4 separate regions of the Homo sapiens genome follow, and all the other regions are linked to region 2. The links are contacts of gene promoters, found by promoter capture Hi-C in blood cells and fetal thymus (Javierre and others, 2016). All regions are on one chromosome and are shown on one strand. The core of a region is centred on a gene start or on the middle of the fragment in contact, and the rest is flanking DNA. Distances in the headings are between cores, read along the strand shown. Region 1 has its middle 46 kb from the start of MAT2B. Region 2 holds the start of TENM2-AS1 (TENM2 antisense RNA 1). Region 3 has its middle 280 kb from the start of LINC03000. Region 4 has its middle 65 kb from the start of MAT2B.

Evidence for each region. Contacts are between HindIII fragments. The CHiCAGO score rates a contact against its expected background, and 5 or more counts as called.
Region 1: a fragment that was not itself captured here is called in contact with the fragment with the promoter of TENM2-AS1 in region 2 in 4 of 17 cell types (total CD4 T cells, naive CD8 T cells, total B cells and 1 more); the score reaches 10.6 in total CD4 T cells.
Region 3: a contact is called between a fragment that was not itself captured here and the fragment with the promoter of TENM2-AS1 in region 2, in 2 of 17 cell types (naive B cells and total B cells). The highest score is 9.5, in naive B cells.
Region 4: a contact is called between a fragment that was not itself captured here and the fragment with the promoter of TENM2-AS1 in region 2, in 8 of 17 cell types (total B cells, naive CD8 T cells, non-activated CD4 T cells and 5 more). The highest score is 19.9, in total B cells.

Annotation. Positions count from the first base shown.
Region 1 is chr5:163,549,541-163,553,554 of GRCh38, reverse strand. No RefSeq gene overlaps it. Among named protein-coding and RNA genes, the nearest start is that of MAT2B, 46 kb to the right of the region's middle. The HindIII fragment of the contact is 1,654 bases long and covers 1,606-3,259 here.
Region 2 is chr5:168,230,849-168,234,857 of GRCh38, reverse strand. TENM2-AS1 (TENM2 antisense RNA 1) reads left to right here and starts at 2,486. Exons shown (of 3, transcript NR_109894.1): 1 at 2,486-2,554; 2 at 3,802-3,972. All of the region lies in intron 27 of TENM2 (teneurin transmembrane protein 2), which reads right to left. The HindIII fragment of the contact is 3,214 bases long and covers 1,991-4,009 here.
Region 3 is chr5:164,018,531-164,022,648 of GRCh38, reverse strand. No RefSeq gene overlaps it. Among named protein-coding and RNA genes, the nearest start is that of LINC03000, 280 kb to the left of the region's middle. The HindIII fragment of the contact is 1,706 bases long and covers 1,178-2,883 here.
Region 4 is chr5:163,568,386-163,572,268 of GRCh38, reverse strand. No RefSeq gene overlaps it. Among named protein-coding and RNA genes, the nearest start is that of MAT2B, 65 kb to the right of the region's middle. The HindIII fragment of the contact is 4,431 bases long and covers 223-3,883 here.

The DNA of each region.
Region 1 (4,014 bases), core at 1,183-3,682, 4.7 Mb after region 2:
GGCATGAGCCACCGCGCCTGGCAATTCTTTATGATACTATGATAGTGGATATATGTCATTATGCATTTTACAAAATTGTACAATATCAAGAGTGAATCCTAATGTAAACTTTGTGTGACAATGATGTTTCAATGTAAGTTCATCAACTGTAACAAATGTACCACCCTGCTGCCTGTCAATAGTAGGGGAGGCTGTGTGTGGATGGAGGGGCTGGATATCATTGTACTTTCTGCTCCATTTTGCTATGAACTTGAAACTGCTCTAAAAAATAATCTATTTTTTAAAAATGAACAGAAAGCCAAGGATCACCAGATATTTGAGGGAATCTAACAAGAAAGAAGAAAATAAGCAGACCAACAGAACACACTCACAATGTGCACACACACATATGCAACATGAAAAAAGACTATATAGAAAATGGAAATTTCAAGTGAAACAGTTTCATGAATATCTTCAGCAAGCTAATGGGAATGAAGCACAAGCAGGATATCGTTTTTAATTTAAAGTTAATAGATAAGGCTGTTAAGAACATGACAGCAGAAATAAAAATCTAAACAGCAGAATTGAAAGAGCTGAGGAAATCTCTCAGAAATCAGAGAAAAAAGACAAAGAAATGAAAATAAAGTGAAGATAAGAAAATTAGAAAGCCCATTCAAGTGAAAACTGAAAATTATTTTAATATTTTTCAGAACAAAAGGACTTAAGTTTCCAGATGGAAGAGCTCATGAAATACCAAGCATGATGAATAAAAATAGAACTATACCAAAGGCCTCTCTGACTTTCTACCAAAATGTAAACTCCACAAGAACTTACAACATGTAGCAGTACTTACAACATGTTGGGGACCTGCCAAGAAAACACAGAAGCCAGCCTGGTGGATTCCTACTGGCCAAATCTGGGCACAATTTGAGCATCAAAAAAAAAAAATGATAGTAATGGATTATAAACCAGCAAATAAAATAAGAATCCATGAGCCTATACCAATATTAATAAATGTTTATAGGTGAGCGATTAAATGAAGGTCCCAGGAATGAGGGCTTTGGTGACAGAATTTTGTTAAATAAAGGAAAATGAAAAGCTTTTTCTTATAGTAGAACAGCAGCTAATAAATGGGTATGAATCATGAAGTTAGAAAATCACCATTCTGCAGCTGTCCAAGCAATAGGAGATGCTAAAACTAGTGGGTAGAAGGTCAAGGAGGAATAGGATACATACATATTCTCAAACACTGCCTGACAAATTGTCAATTACAAAGGGCAAAATAATAACTTTACAGTAGAGAAACTTGGCAGACACACCCTCAACTTTAACTAAGGGATCAAAGTTAACATCAGCAGTAATGGAACCAATGGATAGCATGAGTCTCCAGATACGATACACAGAAAGGGCAAACACCAACTGGTATTCCTGCCAAAAATGAATAACCTGAATCTAATTTTGAGGAAGCACTGGAGAAACCCAAACTGAAGGACATTCTACAAAATAATGGCCTATGCTCCTCATGTTGATACCAAGAAAGATATAGAAAAGTAGCTGATCAGATTAAAGAATAAAGATACATGACAAATAAATACAGTGCAATATCCTACAAGTATTTTCAAAGCTTATAATTTTATCAAAATAAAGTTACCCACGCCTGAAAAAACTTGTGTATGGAATTAATGGAGGTGTCAAGAGGGAGAAAGGGTTATGGTGTGACTTGGCTCTGGATTCCAAGGTGGGCTTTCAACCCTTTAGAGTTGTTCTAATCCCCCTTTCCTCTTTCTAGAAGTGTTCAAATTCAAAGTCTGTTTATTTATAATATGTTTGTAACCTCATATAAGAGACAGTTTGCAGGCAGTCAAAAAAATGGGCTTAACCCTTATTGGAAATATTCAAGCCTCAGAAAATAGATATTTTGGTTCTGATTTGGTAGAATAAACAAGTGTGCTGAAAACAGCAGCAACAATCCAAAAAGCAAACAACTGGGAAGTGACTAAGTAGATTGTGATATATCCACAGCTTGAAATAGTATGCCTTAACAAAAGGTATGTTCAAAGATTATCTATTTTCATGGTTAAATGTTTATGACAGCATGTTGAGTAAAATAAGGTACAGAGAAACCGATACACAGGAACCCAATATGCATGCATGTTTGTATATGTGTCTGTTGATTATGGTGTGTAGATGTGCAAGAACATAATGTACATTGCCCTCTAGTCTGTATGTGACATAGTGGTTTCTAGGAACTTAGGATAACACTACCTATCTCTCAATGGGTGCAAAGTACTCAGTACACGGCAAATGCTCTATCGATATTATTACTAAAACAAAGACCAGAGGAAAGTAAGCCAAAATGTTAATAATGACTATTTCTGCATGATAAAATCATGAGTTTGTGTGTGTGTGTGTGTGTGTGTGTGTGTGACGTGTGTGTGATTTGCTTTTTAATTTTTTTCCTGTTTTCTACAATGAGTATCCATGAGATGATGATGATGATTATTATTATTATTATTATTATTATTATTATTATTAGGAAAAACTAAATTTTTATCTCCTGCCCCTACTAGTTTCACCTGGAAGCTAAAGGAACAATAACTGACTGGACATAAATATTCAATTCTAGGCATCCAGAGAGAGTTCTTTCTTTTCCTTCTTTTTTTTCTTTTTCTTTTTTTCTTTTCTTTTTTTTTTTTTTCTATTTTTGAGACAAGGTCTCTGTTGCCTAGGCTAAAGCACAGTGGCACAATCATAGCTCACTGCAGCCTCAACCTCCTTGGCCTTGGCTCAAGGGATCCTCCTGCCACCATTTCCAACTAATTCTTTTAATTTTTGTAGAGAAAAGGTCTCCCTATATTAGCCAGGCTGATCTCAAACTCCTGGGCTCAAGTGATCCTCCTGCCTCAGCTGCCCAAAATGTTGGCATTACAGGTGTGAGCAACCTCAGAGAAAATTCCATAACTGAACAAATAGACTTGAGTTCACTGACAGCAGTAACATTTATATCCAGAGAGAGCACAGTTGTTCCCTTACGAAGGCTGAAACATTTGACATATATAGTAAAGAGTGAGGCAGGCTATAAAAAATATGTGTGGACTTGCCTAAGTTTCTCAAAGAGCACAAGGAAGACAGAGTAAATCCTTGACAAAACTGGTCTTTAGATATGCATTAAATACAAAGTTTGGAAACATGTGTTTAACGTGGCTGGGGATTAACGCTAAGGAACAGGAGGTTTGGTTGTTAAAGAATATACTTCTTGCTTAACCTGCTAAAGGAAGCTTCTGGGAACCCAAACAGCCACACTATCCTGTGGAAACCCTCCAGGTTTGACTCCAGACATCTCACATATCTAGATCAAAAGGTATCAAAAAGCTCCTGAATGGAGACCACGGTCCTGTTTTAATATGGATGGTCAGGTCAGGTCTGAGGATCTGTTAGCACTTCTGAAAGGTCTCATCTCAGTTTATCATTTCCCTCCTTACCCATTTCAAGGACATTACCTAGAAAGATTTTTATACTTACAAAGACCTCTTCCAGAAAGACTCCACACATAAAATCCCTCAGAATTGATCCAATCTTTTTTTTTTAACCCACAAAAAAATTTACACATGCCACACTAAGGAAATAAATTCTACAGTGGTCAGACTTACCAAGTTTTGAACTTGCACTTCCTAAGTCCTTTTCCATAAAGATAGGGCTGAAAGGATATTTTCCTCTAATATGGGTATATTCATAACGCCTGATAGTTCACTTTATTCTGACTTTACTCTGGCTGAGGAACTGGTTATATAAGAATCAAAATAACTTCTTCTGATTACTAAATAAATGTGTAATGAAAATATGCAAAAGCCATCTGGGTCTACACAAGCCAATCCTAGGTATCATTATTGTTCCCTTTAAGCTTGCATAGGTTTGAATTACAGAAAAATAATGAGAAAATTCTTTGAGATGTTTAGCTATGCTGCTTAGAAACATATAAAGGATCATGGAGATTTCATCTTTGGTACTAATAGAAAAGAACTTCCATTGGAAAGC
Region 2 (4,009 bases), core at 1,237-3,736:
AAGCAATTTTTCTTTTGTTCTGCTACCTACACATGTAGCTGTTTCTTGCTTCTGCAATCTCTATGTAAATCACAATCAGGAAGAAATATCCTAGAGCGTGGTTATATGCTTTCCTTTACAAAGAAAGAGAATCATCCTGCACAAGATCCGTTTTAGGAAAGGGTAGAAGTTTTAAATCTTAATAGAAGGGGTTGATTTCAGTTCTCTCTTCCAAAAGCCTAGAAAAAAGGCTTGTTGGGGTGGGAGGCAATAGAGCCTCAAGAGATCCTCAGGGCCAGGAGTTTTAGATCCTCAGGGCCAGGAGTTTCGCCTTATGATTAGGCTTCGGAGGGATGGAGGATGTAGACTATATTTGGGATATTTATATTTTAACCTTGTATCTCTTTCTTTCTTTTTTGGGTACGGCACCTCTTTTTTCTAGGGCTTCCCTGTCTAGGTGCTTTTACTGAGATGTCTATTATAAGATACAGGTATGGTCATGTGACCTGTGCCTGCCTGACTCATCACAGATCCCCAGCTCCCTGACCAGTGATTTGCCCAGGAATGTGAACTCCCTCTGCCAGGTCAATCTTTCTTCCATGAGATATTTTATGAAAAATAGAAATGCTGGGGGAGATACCTTCCTTTTTCCTCTGGGTTCACTTAGCTGTGATGATGTAAGCCTGGAGTCAACTTTGGCTAAGTCTGCCTGACCACCCCCCACCCCCGCAATGTGAAGAGGACATTAGTCTACTGTAGGAGAAAATTAGGTCAACTGCCGAGAGAGAAACCCTGCCATGGGATGGAAGGGGGCTGTGAGAAACAGAAAGAGAGACGTCCATCTGATATGGTTTGGCTGTGTCCCCACCCAAATCTTGATTTGAATTGTATCTCCTAGAATTCCCATGTGTTGGGAGGGACCCAGGGGGAGGTAATTGAATCCTGGGGGCCGATCTTTCCCGTGCTATTCTAGTGATAGTGAATAAGTATCACGAGATCTGATGGGTTTATCAGGAGTTTCCGCTTTTGCTTCTTCCTCATTTTCTCTTGATGCCGTCAAGTAAGAAGTGCCTTTTGCCTCCCGCCATGATTCTGAGGCCTCCCCAGCCATGTGGAACTGTAAGTAAGTCCAATTAAACTTCTTTTTCTTCCCAGTCTTGGGTATGTCTTTATCAGCAGCGTGAAAACAGACTAGTACACCATTTAATGACATCTTAGAGTCTCTGAGGCCAGCTTCTCCCTTGTGGTGGCCCTGTTAGGTAAGACAGCGCCTACTCTTCTAAGTTAGTCTGAATGCACTTCCTGTCTCTTGCAGTGGAAGGATTCCAGACAGATGTAGGGGCAATGTATTTGTGAATTTATACCCACTGTGGTGGGGGAGCATTTACACATTAAGAAGGCGCCTATAGAAGGCACAGTTATTACATCTTTCTTTGTCACCTGTTGTCTGAGTACCCACCACATGGCACTTGTCACCAGGGATACAGGGGCGACCTGGTCCCTGCACTTATGGAGCTCACAGATGCCATGATGTAACTGCTTCTTTTTTTTTTGAGATGGGAGTCTCACTCTGCTGCCAGACTGGAGTGCAGTGGCACGATCTTGGCTCCCTGCAACCTCCGACTCCCTGGTTCAAGCGATTCTCCTGCCTCAGCCTCCTGAGTAGCTGGGATTACAGGCATGCGCCACCACACCCAGCTGATTTTTGTATTTTTAGTAGAGATGGGGTTTCACCATTTTGTTCAGGAGGGTCTTGATCTCCTGACCTCGTGATCCACCCGCCTCGGCCTCCCAAAGTGCTGGGATTACAGGCGTGAGACACCACGCCCGGCCTGCTTCATGTTTTTGCAAGGCCAGAGTGAGTGAAGAAAGGAATGGAGGACAATGCGGGAAGGAGGGGGAGGACTCTTTCAAAGGAGATTCTTTGAGGAGTTCTTGGGAGGCATAATGAAAATCTTCCCTGCACTGAGTTTGGGCAGGAATGAAGGGACTAACACTCCATTACAAAGCTTTTGGTGAAAGGATGTGGTCCCGGTCTATCCATCCGCCATCATCTTACATTTCCCCAGGCTGTAAGGAAGAGCCACTGATACTTTCCTCCACTAAGAGATGCCTCCGTCTGGAGGATTGTGGGAAGAAAGGGTACCTAGGTGGGTTGGAATTTCACTGGGCACTGTTCTATTGTGATGGCTTCACTGAGATTGTTGGTCTTCTCTAAACTCCAGGAATGTTCAGAGCCTTGGGCCCTCACACCCCTCAGCTGACCAGGCTCCCAGGAGCTTGCCAGTCCCGGGGACGTTCAGGCTATTTGCTTCATGCATGATACCCACACATTCTCTCCAAATCCCTGCTCTCCACATGGGGAGCAGTGATTACATGGAGCTGGTTAAGTGGCTGCATTTCAAAGTTCATTTAGTTTCTTCTCCATTCCAAGAGGCAGGGCTGGGGCCACCAGAATCTTACATCTCTGGCTTGGGTTTCAGCTCCCAGCCACTCTCTTTTACAGAGCCCACAAAGCGTGGACGGCCACCCAGCCTTCCCAGTTTACATGATCATGGGGAGAGCCTGTCAAAAGGTGAGCATGACACAGCAACCCTGCTAGTTGCCCAATCCTCGTCCTCGTGTGCTAGACATCTCTCAAATCTCTCCCCCTACCTTCTTTCTTTCCTCGCTGCTAGTGATTTAGTTTCTTGTTTGGACTAATGCAGCACCCTCCTTACTGTCCCTCTCCTCCTATCATCTATCTTGTCCCCTTCTCATCTGTCTTCCTCCATACCTGAGGAAGTCAGAGAGATCTTTTCTTTCCTTTTCTTGAGACAGGGTCTTGCTCTGTTGCCCAGGCTGGAGTACAGGGCATGATCAGAACTCACTGCAGCCTCAAACTCCTGTGCTCAAGCAGTCCTCCTGCCTTGGCCTCCCGAATAGCTGGGACTACAGGCATGTGCCACCATGACAGGGTCTCCCTATGTTGCCCAGGCTGGTCTCCAACTCCTGGGCTCAAGGGATCCTCCTGCCTTGGCCTCCCAAAGTGCTAGGATTATAGGCATGAGCTACTGTGCCAGGCCATGGTCGGCTATTTAAACTTTTTTTTTTTTTTTGGTTGTTGTTGTTGTTTGTTGTTGTAGAGACAGGGTTTTGCTATATTGCGGTTTTGCTATATTGCCTAGGCTGGTCTTGTCTTGAACCCCTAGGCGAAAATGATCCTCCCACTTTGGCCTCCCAAAGTGTTGGGAAAACAAGCATGAGCCACTGTGCCCAGGCTGGAGAGAGCTTTCTAATGCCACACATCCCAGCACATCACTCTGCTAATGAAGTCCAGGTAGGGCTCACCATTGCCCTCAGGATAAATGTTAGCCTGGCACCATGTTCTTTTCCATGTGCAGTCTCTGGCTGCATCTTCTTTTTCTACCCTACTCTCTAACACATCCACTGCCACACTGAATTAGTTTTCTGAAATGCCATTCCCTTTTTGGCCTCTTGGCCTTTCCACTGGCGACATTCTTTGTCCTGTCACCTCTGTTCCCTATCTCTGCCTGGCTGATTCTTACTACTCTACAGAAATGATTCCAGCTCCTCTGTGAAGCCCTTCCTGATCTCTTGTCAAACGGGAGACCTGATCACTCTGCTACGTGCTTACCAAGTCTTTGTTCATCTTCTTCTTCTTAGGCACTCAGAAAAGACAACATTTTCCAGGCTTCCCTGTGGTTCAGTTGAGGTTCCCTGATAGTGTTCTCACCAGGGTGGGTGGAAGTGAGGCCTGCCGTATCCAGGCCTGCTTATTAAGCTCTCGTGAATCACCCAAACTCTCTTCCCTTGCTGCAGCAACTGCACAGAGCCTGTGCTTAAGATGGCAGGATCGCAAGACAGAGCAACTGGAGCAAGTCCTCATTAAGAAGAGCCGCCCGATGCATTTGGACTGCGATGTGTTACGCCCATGAGATTTCAGGGTTAATTTGTTACCTGGCCGTGGCCTATCCTCTTCCAGCAGATACAGTTAAGTATCCCTTTCTTTGTGCTTTTGGCCTGTATT
Region 3 (4,118 bases), core at 781-3,280, 4.2 Mb after region 2:
CCAGGGTTCTGCATGGCCAGTGGCCAAATAGAGGTGGCTGGGCTTGGCATCTTGAGTCCAACATTTGAATTTATTCATCTTCAATGGAAGAATTTTAATCATCATAGTGACTTTAAAGAGTAAAAATATGCCCTACGTTACCTGCATCCCAGATAATTATCAATGGGCAGGACAAAGTTGAATGAATATTTAATCCTCAAAACAGTTTTTATCTTTAAACTTCAGTTTTGCTGAATCTAAAGTGAACAAAAAGACTCGCTCATAAGAGTATGGTTATTTCCCTTACCCATTAGTCTACAAACACAGATATTAGATTTGCTACTAGACAGCTTAGAGTGCCAGTGAAACAAACAAACAAAATAATATGTGTGCTTGTTGAGTAATAATTTGTTGGGAAGTCTTTGAAGGAGACTGAAAAAAATGAGTGAATGATACTATGTATATGAAGCATATTAAACATAAGAATAAATGAACAGCTTCTCAGGCAAGTCTTTTGCACTTAATTAACTAATCAATTTTCCAGGGTTCTAATGAATATTAATAGCAAAAGTATAATGCCAATGCATAGTAAATAATCCTAAGCATCGCTGATGTGTACTTTGAAACAGCAAAGGCAACAAAAAGAAGAAAGTAGCGTAAGTCAGCAGATTGAAAGAAAAGTAAGTGTGAGGGACCTAATTAAAGCTTAGTTTTGTTTTTCTTCCCTATAGAAAAAGATGTCATAGGACTGCTTTTGCCCAAACATTTACCCAACCACATATAACTTAAAAATCACATAGGCTTCTAGCAAGAACAGAGAACACAGGAATGCTTTTCCTTTGTGTTTGCTTTGGCATTGGTGAGATCTGAATGACCAATTAGTATACCTCCAACTTCAAATGTTCAGCCTGTATTCAAAACAATCTAAGTGAAGTAATTGATTTCTCATTTCTCTCGTATTATTTTTACTCATTCACATGGAAGAGACTTAACAAATTCTCATAAAGCCTTCTTTCTTCTCCCATTCATCTCTAATTGTTGATGTTCATCAAGATTTGGACCTAAGACCTCTTCTCTTTTCACTCTACCCACTCTACTTGCATGATCTCATTCAAATTTGTGATCCCCAATCTATGTCTACAATCAAGATCTCTGAGCCTCACATCCATAGATCCACATGTCTAATGAATTGTAAGCTTCTTTTAATGTCCTGCAGGCCCATAAAATGCAATTTAGCTGAAACTTTTTGGCTTCCCCCACAAACTGGCTGTAGGAGATGTGCTGAGTAAGGGGACCTTTGATGACTTGTTGTAGCCAGAAATCTGGCTTAACGATGACATGCATATTTCTCTAATATAATCCACAACATAAACGTAGTTTCCACAGTAATCTTCCTAAAGTGTATATCATGATCCTACCTCCCTTAGGACCCATAACTAACTTTTCACTGCCCAAGGATGTGTACCTTTAGGCTTTTCCCCTTTATTTTCTCAGCTTAAAATATCTGTGTACCCCCATCAAAATCCTATACTTTAAGAAAGAGATGAAACATAGAAGTCCCTGGACAGAGCTTATTCTGTCTTCTCATATGGCCCTAAGACCCTTTGTTCAATCCTCTATTCAGCCCTTCTTCTGCCTTCAGCTAATATTTGCCTCACAAGGAGGACTATAAGCTCTATAAGTGTAGGCAGTCTGTCGCCTTTTTCCTTAATGTCTCAACATTTAACAAAATACCTGACGCACTCAATACACTGCTAATAAATGCCATAATTCAGCGGGAGCCTCCCAGTTCACATAATGGAAGCCTATCACGCTAGCAGCAACTTAAAGGCAGAGTTGACCCCAAAGTAAACATGTGGGCTTCATTCTTGTTTCTCATTCATGAGCTCAGGTTATATCTATTTTTCTGGCCTTTTTGAAATATATATTTTTTATAGCAGCATGATTTATAGTCCCTTGGCTATATACCCAGTAATGAGATGGCTGGGTCAAATGGTATATCTAGTTCTAGATCCCTAACTGTTGTGGGGTGGGGGGAGGGGGGAGGGATAGCACTGGGAGATATACCTAATGCTAGAGGACGAGTTAGTGGGTGCAGCGCACCAGCATTGCACATGTATACATATGTAACTAACCTGCACATTGTGCACATGTACCCTAAAACTTAAAGTATAATAATAATAAAAAAGAAATACATATTTTTTTCATTCTAGGAACTCTCATTCTCAAAGGAGCAATGATTTCATTGTAAGCTGATTTACAATGGCTTCTGGGAGGCAGGACTTACAGGCGAGTTTTAACGGCACTTTCTGCTCACTCGTACCACATGTATCATTCAGCCATGGCTCACAATGCTATAAAAATGTCTCCACTTGCGTGATGAAACACGTCTATCCCAAGGTATGCCAGAGATTTGAAAATAAAAAGTAAATCTCCTCCTTGGGTGGGATCCACATTATCATGCAATTTGTGAGCATGCCCACGTGAGCCCGTTTCAGGCACTTTTAGATCAGTGGAGCAGCTATTAAAGTGCCATCAAAGCATTTTTGACTCCATAGAATTAATCACGAAATCTGTTCCTGCCAGCTCACTTATCATATTCAAAATATTAATTTAGAGCAAAATTAAATCGGACACCCACCGACAGCAACATTTTGCCCTTCAGAACTCCCCTTCATATTGATTTATTAATGGCTGCCAGAACAGCCTACTAGAACAATTTATTACTTCTTTCTGGATGTTTCTTTATGCTTACAAATAGTCTTTGGGAAAGAGAGGTGTTATCTGACAGTCTTTTGACAGGGGTATTTTTCAATTTGCATAACATTTGGGGGATTTATTGGGATTTAAGGAAGAAGTACCATTTTAGTATCGGTGGCAATAGGTAATTTGCTTCAGGAAGCTTTAAAGCCGGGGGGTCACTTTAAAGCTCGTAAGTGGTGCAAGTCGGAGATGATGTAAAAACTTCGTGCATCACTGAATCCACTCTTCACTGTGATGAAGTGCTATAAAAGCAAAATGGAAGCATAGGGTGTCTGTTTATGAACTATGGACATATTCTTTTTACTTTTGCTATTAAGATCTCAAATACCCGCATCAGCACTTGAATAGCATGAAAGTTCAAATGCTCAACTGTGACAGTACAAATTCCAGGTAGTAAAAGCAAATAGTTCCCTAATCCTGAGACAAAAGGCTCCTTAACTCTCCGGACCTCAGAGAGAAATCACACTGAGCAGAACCACTGAACAACCCTGACAAGGCCCAAAGTCCCCATCCCACTGGTGTACGCAGTGTTACCAACAGGGATACAGACAGGAGCCAACTTCGATTGAACCACAGGCCTTGTGCTCATTCACTCGGCCATTCCATACATTTTAATTGAGTGCCTACTACCAGGTGCTGTTATAAACACGGGGAATGCCAAGTTGAAGTCCCACATGAGGTCCAAGCTCACACAGAACTTACATCCTCATTGAGACAAGGGGGATGGTGACAGAAAATTTTTAAAAAAGAATCAAAGAGACAATTTCAAATAGTGTAAGGTGTTGTGAAGAACATAATATAGGGTAACGGAACAGAAGGTGATTGTGGGGTGGCAGGGACAGTATTTTAGTTAAATAGTCAGGGAAGACCTCTATTAACAGTTGAGAGAAGAGCATTCAGACAGCGGAAACAGTCGGCATCAGGTTTTTGCTGTAGGTATGAATTTGTGTGTACAAGAAACACGAAAAAAAAAAAGTCAGTGACTGCAAGATAGTGAATGAAGGGCAGAGAAGTCATGGATGAGGTCAGCCAGGCAAGACTCAGATCTTTGAGGGCTTTGTGTGCCTAGGTAAGTGATATAATGTGATTATGTTTTAAAATACAGCTCTGGCTGCCCTGTGGGGAGGTACTTTATGTCTCTTATCTCATTGAATTTCAACCATCGCACTATGAGTTTAAGTACTATCATCACTCCTGTTTTAGAGAAGTTATGTAGATTAGCCAAAGGCACAACTAGTTGGTAAAAGAGCTAACATCTCAACTATACCAGACACCAAACTCAGTTTGTAACTTTCAAGAGAAGCATAAACATTTTATAACTATTTAAAATTGCTTCTTTTAGATCCAAGGCAATCTGCTCATAGGTTCAAAGATTC
Region 4 (3,883 bases), core at 1,189-3,688, 4.7 Mb after region 2:
TTGATATTAGAAAGTACTGAGATGGCAATCAATTGGGATGCCTGATATATATATAAATATATATATATTTTTACAGATCATCTCTCGAACTTGAGTAGTTGCTTACACAGCTATGTACAGAAGTGTTTTCTGCAGGACTTTGGATGAAATGACCCTTCAAGGTGGTTTGGTGTCTTTCAAGTACACGGCTGTGTTTATACCCCATCCCGGATCAGACAAGCTTCACTAACCACAGAAGTTGGGATAAAAGCCAGATGCATCCCACACATTCCTGTGGTCCTCCTGCCTTCTGGCAAACTCTAGGACCAGATTGAAAAATCTGTGCCCAGTTTGGAGGCCAAGTTTGGTGTGATCCGGGGATGATTTATATGGCTCTGGGTGGAGTCCACATGACATGTGCTACTTTGGCCAAGTTTAGCTTTGGAGTTTCTGACTCATTTGAAGTAAAATGTACCAGGTGGGGACAGATGGACTCCCCAACAGGGACCAGAGGGGTTTCCTCCAAATCTTGTGGGACCCAAAAACCACTGAATTTCTCACGTCCCTATTCAAAGGCCTAAAAAACAGGCAACACAGGTGGTGTCAGGGAGAAGGAGTTGGATGTAGAACGGCTTTCCAGGATTTGCCAAAAACAAAAATAAATTGCTTTTAATTTCTGAAAGGAGAAAGGCTGGATTGATTTTACAGGCTCTCCTCTAAACAGCAATTTACATGCTGAAACTGTAAAGCTGAGGGTAAAATATCCCTTCCTGGTGATTTAAAATCCGTTGATTAATCTCAAGTTGATGACCTTGTTCCCCTGCAACAATAGAACTTTAATTCATCTCACTCAGCCTGCCTCTAACTAGTTTTCAACAATCACTAAACAACCAGCACATAGTGGCTATCCGATGAATAGAATCCTTATTAATAAATACAAATTAAATGAAGCATATCAAAAGAACCTGATCCCAATACCAAAGTAAATAAGGACTTTCTCTGCATTTAAGAGCAAAATACATCCCATTTGGAAAAATCTCAGGTACTCTAAAGCACTGTTGTCTGATAGAAATAAAATGCAAGCCACAAATGCAAGCCATGTATGTAATTTTAAATTTCCAAGTGGCAACATTAAAACATGAAAACAGGCTAAAATTAATTTTTAAAATAGACTTTTATTTAACTCAATATATCCAAAATATTATTGTTTCAACATGCAATCAATGTAAAAAAAAAAATGATGAGCTGTTGTACATTTTGTTTTCCACAGTACGTCTTTGAAATCCTGTGTGTGTTTTACACTTAAGAACGCACCTCAAGTTGGACGGTTTGCATTTTCAATGCTCTATGGATTTATGTGACTAGCGGCTACTATTATTGGACAGGGCAGCTTTACCATAATAGCCACGCTAAATATATGTCAGTAAGCAAATTTTATAGTTAACTCAGATACAAGTGACCAGAATACAAAGAATGGTTTTGATCTTACAGAAATGGCAACATTTGGGAAGCAATATAGAAGCAGGCTATCAGGACTCTGAAAAGAGCCTTCCCCAAATTTCTCCCCCATGTGCCTCAGTTTCTCCATCTATAAAATGAGGATAAGAGCTCTAAGTATCTCATATGGCTTAGTGCGTTACAACAGTTCATACAAGTAGACTCTTTGGAACTGTGCCTGGAATATCGTAATAATCAACAAATCTTAGCAAGAAGAGGCTGATGATAAATACCTTGAAGGCAAGGACTGTTTCTTATTCACCACGATAAGCCCCAGTACCTACCACAGTCCTATTACACTGAAGCTGATCAATGAGCATTTTCTTTTAAGATATTAAGAGTGGTAGAGACTGTGACGTGCTTCCCAGATTCTTCTTTGAGAAATAAAAGGAATTTTACCCAGGCTGCTAGGAGTGCTGCTAGCAAATAGTCCTTAGCTACCATCTTTCTTTGGGGATTGCCCCAGCTAAAGAGCAATGCCTTGGTAAAGTCAAACTCCTTCTCCAAGGTGGTCCACTTACAACACAATGACTGTTGGGCAGGCTGTCTGCTCCTCAGGGAAGAGAGTTTCGAAAGGCCATTCCAGCTCCAGAGTTCCTCGTCCTTGTGTATATATCCTTGGGCATGCACCATACTCCACTTCTCCCTCTACTGCATCCTGTTTTCTTCCCCTCCCTTCCACTGGTGCCAATCCCAAAAGTACTCCCCAGTAAACATCCTGTATGTGAATACACAACCCAGAGAATGCCAACTGCAATGAAAAGAAACAAGGACTGCCTATTGAAAGAATAGTTAACACTATGAATAAATAATATTTACCAATGTTTTCTTAACAATTTATATTAACCAGGTCAGTACAAATATTGCCAGTATACCACACAGCACAGATTCTCTCCTTGAGTCTTCCCACCAGAAGTATATTTTTTTTCCAAGATACACAACCAAGCGGTGACAGAAGAAATGAGAACAGCTGGGAGCATTGATACTCTTTTTAAGAAATCTTTCTTCTTTGGGTTACCCAAGACCCACATGCTACAACCAGGCACATGCCAGGGTGAGCCTAAACCACTGGGTTCTCTCGCATCTCGGACTTTCAAATTCTTAAATTTGCCCTTTACTTTAAAAAGTCAATGATTTCACCAAGAAAGTTTGATTAGTTTCTTTTACTTTCTGTAATGAAGTGCCATCCTTTTTACACTTGAAAGGATCTTTGTAATAATGCAACATTGATCTTTTGAATACAGATGAGCTAACCTAGATAATAGGATTTAGAATGTGAAAGGCTGGACTTGCGATGATATTTAAGGCTCCAGTGCCATCAAGAGGAATTACAGCACAAAACATCTGTTTCCTGAGACATTGTCTGATGCCTCATAAATAAATGTAGGATCATGTTTCCTCCTGCACATAGTTTTTATTTGTTTCAACATCTTAAAAGAAGTCAATATGCTGTGTCCTCAGATGTCAATCATCCAGTACAAAAAAGAGAGAGAGAAGAGAGAGATTTAGCTCTGAGATCTGTCTTCTTTAGGTCTGCAGCCTTAAGGCTCTAGGTCTAGAACTGGGATTCAATTCTGATACTAGAAAACAGTTCTAATAAAACTTTAGCAAAAATGGAAAGACAATCATTCAAAGATTTTTTTGCACCAAGTTCTGTTAGGGGCTGAGGATACAAAATGAATTGAACACAATTCAAGCCTTGAATAACTGACAAGAGGAGACAGGAGAATAAAGTTTTGGAAAGTGAAGTGGATTCTCCAGGAACCATATGAGAGGGTGCCATTCTTCCATCTCCCCATTCTTTAGAAAAAAACAGAGACTTTGTGGTGGTCCCATATTCCAAGAGAGGCTGAGCAGGTACTTCTTTATATGAAGCCTCACACACAGTGGGTAGCTCTTGCTCAGTCAGGGCAAATTCCCTGTCACCTGTGTATGGACCAATAATACATTTAACAGTAGAGCAAGGTAAAAAAGAGCTATCCCAAAAATCTCAATTCAATGACAACTGCAGGAGGATCCATGCTACTATTCTCTCTACTAATGAGTATGTATGAAATTATCCATAATTTTGAAAAAAAAAAATAACTCCAAATCTAGCTTGGGACAGTGTAACTAAGTCACATACAGCATTGAGTGCTAAGTATGAGACACCGAGCACAAAATATTTAGAGACCAGAGGGCTCAGTGTGGGCTAAACTGATCGAAGAAGCCTTTGAGACTTAGGTAATATAACGACTGATAGTTATTGCCCTCTTGTTCTGTGCCACGTGATATTAGCAGCATATCACCTGCAGTTTATCATTTAATCCCAACAAGGACTGTATGAGGGAGTTACCTCTATTAATAGATGAGAAAGCTGAGGTCCAAAGTGAAGTAACTTACTCCAGAGTGTACAATTATCAGATCG